Regions from separate parts of the Homo sapiens genome. Here region 1 is linked to region 2. The links are contacts of gene promoters, found by promoter capture Hi-C in blood cells and fetal thymus (Javierre and others, 2016). All regions are on one chromosome and are shown on one strand. Each heading gives the region's core, a stretch centred on a gene start or on the middle of the fragment in contact. The rest is flanking DNA. Distances are from core to core; before and after follow the strand shown.

What was found. The method cuts DNA at HindIII sites, captures the fragments that hold promoters and counts their contacts. A CHiCAGO score of 5 or more calls a contact.
Region 1: a contact is called between a fragment that was not itself captured here and the fragment with the promoter of SPEF1 in region 2, in 1 of 17 cell types (erythroblasts). The highest score is 5.2, in erythroblasts.

What each region holds. Positions count from the first base shown.
Region 1 is chr20:4,188,758-4,191,457 of GRCh38, reverse strand. No RefSeq gene overlaps it. Among named protein-coding and RNA genes, the nearest start is that of LINC01433, 3.0 kb to the left of the region's middle. The HindIII fragment of the contact is 2,670 bases long and covers 26-2,695 here.
Region 2 is chr20:3,780,017-3,782,716 of GRCh38, reverse strand. SPEF1 (sperm flagellar 1) reads left to right here and starts at 1,269. Exons shown (of 7, transcript NM_015417.5): 1 at 1,269-1,538. The coding sequence starts at 1,430. RefSeq lists enhancers at 970-1,119, 1,081-1,375. The HindIII fragment of the contact is 3,327 bases long and covers 1-2,340 here.

The DNA.
Region 1 (2,700 bases), core at 111-2,610, 410 kb before region 2:
CTCTCTCCAGCAATGGCCTTAAGCTTTTTTGGTGGCACCAGCCTCTTCTTTTCATCATACAATAGAACGAGCCTACACCACGCAGTCAGACAGACTTCAGCTCATGTCTCGGCACCTCTGAGCAACCCTGGGCAAGTTACTTAACTTCTCTGAGGTTTCACTTGCCCACAGGAATAAATAAAGCCTGAGTTGGCATCACTGTCAAATCAGTATCACATTCACATGGCATAGTGCCAGGCAATTGGCACTAAGTGAATATTCTCTCCCTCCCTCTTACCCACCCATGAAGCTCCCTGAAGTGCAGTCACCAAGTAAACATTTCCAGACCTTTCACCCCACCATGGAGTCCTTTAAAATTCCTCTGCCTATACACTGAGAACCTATTTATCACTTTCTTCCCCGATACTTATGTGATGGGGCTGCTTGTCTCCATCCCACTGCAGTGGATGGGGAAATCCAACAACTGAGGAGTCAGAAGCAGACAGCAGACTATGAGTCATGGAAGGTAACAGGTAATAGAAGGTGGCTTCCATAAAGTGACCCTGGGCCAGGGAGGAGACAGACATGCTTTGACCAAAGTAAGGTCCAAATTTACATTGTCTGCTTATGTACCATTACAGAAAGATGTCCAAGACATATTGTGGGTTTTTTTGATTTTTTATTTGTTTTTCTGTTTGTTTTTGAGACAGAGTTTCACTCTTGTTGCCCAGGCTGGAGTTCAATGGCGCGATCTCGGCTCGCTGCAACCTCCACCTCCTGGGTTCAAGCAATTCTCCTGCCTCAGCCTCCCGAGTAGCTGGGATTACAGGTATGCATCACCACACCCGGCTTATTTTTTGTACTTTTAGTAGAGACAGGGTTTCACCATGTTGGCCAGGCTTGTCTTGAACTCCTGACCTCAGGTGATCCACCCGCCTTGGCCTCTCAAGGTGCTGGGACTACAGGTGTGAGCCACCGCGCCCAGCCTACAGGACATATTGTTAACTAAAACAAGCAAAATCAGGACAAGATGAATACTTTGGTGCTTTTGTATAAAAAGGAGGGAGAAGAGTGTTTTTATATTGACTTACATCTAGGAATGGATACCCCTAGGGCTGTGGGAGAGGCAACAGTGACTGGGGACACTGTGAGAGGGAACATTTCAGTGTATTGTATCCACGTGGACAGCTTTTGGGCTTAAACTACATGAACAGATCATCTATTCAGACAATTTTTCATATATAGGCTGGGCATAGTGGCTACGCCTGTAATCCCAACACCTTGGGAGTCCGAGGCGGGTGGATCACCTGAGGTCAGGAGTTTGAGACCAGTCTGGCCAATATAGCAAAACCCCAACTCTATTTAAAATAGAAAAATTAGCTGGGCATGGTGGTTCGTGCCTTAATCCCAGCTACTCGGGAAGCTGAGGCAGGAGAATCGCTTGAGCCTGGGAGGTGGAGGTTGCAGTGAGCCGGGATCATGCCACTGCACTCCAGCCTAAGCAACTGAGTGAAACTCCGTCTCAAAAAAAAAAAAAATTCATATATATATTTAGACATTTTTCAGTTATGCCAGCAGGTGGGTATGAATCCCTTGATATAAGCTCCATGAAGATTTCTGGCAGATCAACCCTGGCAAAGCAAAATGTCTGTGAGGTTTGTGCATGTAGGTGTGTGTGCGTAAGTGGATGCAGGTAAGCATGTGTGTACGTGTGTCTGTGTGTTAGACATCTCCATCACAACCTACCAGCCTGGGCAATATAATGAGACACTCTCTCTACAAAAAAATAAAAATAAAAATTAGCCAGGCATGGTGGCACATGCCTGTAGTCCCAGCCACTCCTGAGTAAGGAGGATCATTTAAGCCCAGGAGTCTGAGGCTGCAGTGAGCCATGATCGCACCGCTGTCTCCAGCCTGGGCAACAGAGTGAGATGCTATTTCAATCAATCAATCAATCACCTGGGAGGAGGAAGGGGCTGTCATGTCCTGTCAAGGGCAGGGCCCTAAATGTCCATGAAGGGGACCTGACCTAAGCTCTTCATAACTTCTCCCCATCACCCCACCCTTCAACTCTGTAGAATTCAAATTTCATCACTAGAAATCTAGGATAACAAAATGACTAACTGTTCTTTAAGATGACTGGGGACAGTGTGAATGGGGACATTTTAGTGTATTCTTATATAGCTTTTGGGCTTAAACCACATGGACAGAGCCATGTGGATCTGAATTCAAATTTCATCACTAGAAATGTGGAGTAACAAAATGACTGTTCTTTAAGGTTCTGTGTGTGTGTGTATGTAGGTAGGTATATGTGTAGGGTAGAGAGGTGAGTGTATGTAGGTGTGTGTACCTGTATATGTCATGTGGGTTATGTGTAAGGTGTAGTGGTGAGTATATGTAGGTATGTGTACCTATATATGTGGGTGAGTATATATAAGGGGGTAGATGTGTCTTTTTACTCAGCAAAAAGAGAAGAAAAAGAAGTTTTTCTTTTTTAAAAGACATCTGTAGAGATGGGGTCTCACTGTGTTGCCCAGGCTGGTTTCAAGTTCCCAGGCTCAAGCAATCCTCCTGCCTCAGCCTCCCAAATTGGTGGGATTACAGGCATAAGCCACCATGTCCAGCCTAGGACCCTTTTCTAGATGCCTAGTATGTAAAGGAAAGTATTGATTGCTTTATATTTGGTGTGTGAATTATTCCTTAATACTGAGAAGCTTGACA
Region 2 (2,700 bases), core at 20-2,519:
TTCCAACAAGACGAATTACTTCCATTTGTCTCCTGCGAAAAAGAACAGTTCTTGCTGGAACTGAGACTGTCTCATTAATGATAGTACCAGCTGATACTAATAGGGCCCCTGCTCTGTGCTAAATGCTTTAGATGCTCACAAAGCCCCTATAAGGTAGGTAAAGCCATGAGAAACCAGGCAGCGGTCCGGTCAGGTGCCCAAGGCCATGCCGTTAGTCAAACTCTCTTCTCATCCTGACTCTAGAAGTACCTCTTCACTAAGGAGGGACCCATATTCCTAACCCCCTTATGGGTACTGCAATGAATTTGTTTCTTTCTTTTCTTTTCTTTCTTTTTTTTTTTTTTTTGAGATGGAGTCCCGCTCTGTCGCCTAGGCTGGAGTGCAATAGCATGATCTTGGCTCACCAACCTTTGACTCCCGGGTTCAAGCGATTCTCTTGCCTCAGCCTCCTCAGTGGCTGGGATTACAGGCATCCACCACCACACATGGCTAACTTTTTTTTGTATTTTCAGTAGAGACGGGGCGAAAGCCATGTTGGCCAGGCTGGTCTCGAACTCCTGACCTCAGGTGATCTGCCCGCCTCGGCCTCCCAAAGTGCTGGGATTACAGGCATGAGCCACTGTGCCCTGCCTGAAATGAATTTCTAATCCATGGAAGAATAGCTCATTGACGGGTGATGAGGGGTTTGGGACAAATAAGTGAGAACCATCGTCATTTCACAAAGGAGGAAATAGAGTTAAGAAGTTAAATGACCTGCCAAGGTACTGGCCTTGAACTCTGGTGTTCTCCCTGGGAGTCTGGGTTACCTATTAAATACCCCACTAGAACACTGCTGGGAAGGGCGAGTGGCAATGGCCCCATGAGCATAGAGTTTTTGGAGAGGGACGAAGCAGGAAGCAGTTGTATCACGCAATCCATTTGGGTGGCAGATTATCAACAACGCACCCCCAAATAAAGCTGACCAACACTGGAGTGCTCCCTTCACTTGGGACTAAAGGGCTGAAGGGCCAAGAAGGGGGATCCCCACCCTAGGGGTGCAGATGCAGGAATTCTGGGGTCCTGGTTGGCTTTGGCTGGTCCCAAAATGGATGAGTGGCTGGTCACTAGGTGGCGTGGGCACAGAAGTGATGCTTTCTTGGGAAGAAGACAAGGGCAGCTAACCGCCTTTTCAAAGCTCGGGCCTGAGAGGAGGTAGCGGGGAGGGGATAAAACTACAACTCCCAGAAGTCTTTGTACCCAGGAGAGTCGGGAATGGTTTCCATGGTTTCAGAAAACAATATGGCCGCTCCCAGCTGGGACGTGAGTCTCTGGATTAGGCAGGCAGAGGCAGTTATGGGCTTCTGCAGTGGCGAGAAAGGAAGCGCCTGAAGGGTCGTGAGGCTGGGGCGGGACCCGGCACCGCTGGGGCGGCCAGGCCGTGAGGACGCCAATGGCGAGCAGCGTGGACGAGGAGGCGCTGCACCAGCTGTACCTGTGGGTAGACAACATCCCTCTGTCCCGGCCCAAGCGAAACCTCTCCCGGGACTTTAGCGATGGAGGTGTGTGCCCTTGTGTGTCTGCATGTTCTGTCCTGTATGTTCGTGTGTAACGGGTCTCTGTGCAAACTCTTTGTGTTTGTGTGCTTGTGGGAGTGGGGAGGAATCTGCCTCCTGGGACTTCAAATTTTAGATGTGTGTGCTTGTTTTCTATTTGCATCTGTGTGTGAACGATGTGTGTCCATATATGTATGTCTACATGTTCTATCCTGTGTGCATGTTGGGGGGGGTGCCTCTAACTCCCTCCAGGGACATTAATGATTAAGATATGTGTCTGCATATGTATTTATGCATTTCTGTATGTGCTCACTCATTGCTATGTGTTCTATGTCTTCTGGGAGTCTGAGCATGTGTGTGTTCATATGTGTTGACATGTTTAGTCTTGTATTTGGGGGGGTCTTGTGTGCATGTGTTTCTTTGTGATTGTGAAGGTGTTTGTGTTTCTAGGAATGTCTCCTGGGATCTCAATGACAGAAATACTTATCTGTCATCTTTTCATGTCAAGTACTTCTATGCATCTCTGTATCTGTATATTTGGGGAGGCTGTGTGCATATGTGGCTTTTTGTGCTTCTGTCTATGTGTGTTCTACATGTGTGCCTATGTGTGTCTAGCATGTGTTTGTTCTATGTGTCTACACATTCTGCCCTATGTATCTATGTGTAGGGGGATCTTATCACATGTGTCTCTGCTTACGTGAGTCTTTTACTCTCCTGGAACTTTGGTGTTGGAGTGTGTGTGTGTGTGTGTGTGTGTGTGTGTGTGTGCATCATGCATCCATGTGAATTCCCTGGGCTCCTGAAAGCTTCTCTTGGAGACTCATTCTCTTTTTTTTTTTTTTTTTTTTTTGAGACAGAGTCTCACTCTTGTCGCCCAGGCTGGAGTGCAGTGGCATGATCTCAGCTCACTGCAACCTCCACCTCCTGAGTTCAAGCGATTCTTCTGCCTCAGCCACCCAAGTAGCTGGGTTTACATGCACCACCACACCTGGCTAACTTTTGTATTTTTAGTAGAGATGGGGTTTCACCATGTTGGCCAGGCTGGTCTCGAACTCCTGGCCTCAGGTGATCTACCCGCCTCAGCCTCCCAAAGTGTTGGGATTACAGGTGTGAGCCCCTGCACTGGCTGACTCATTCTCTACTGGAGGACCAGAGACTCAGTATTCCC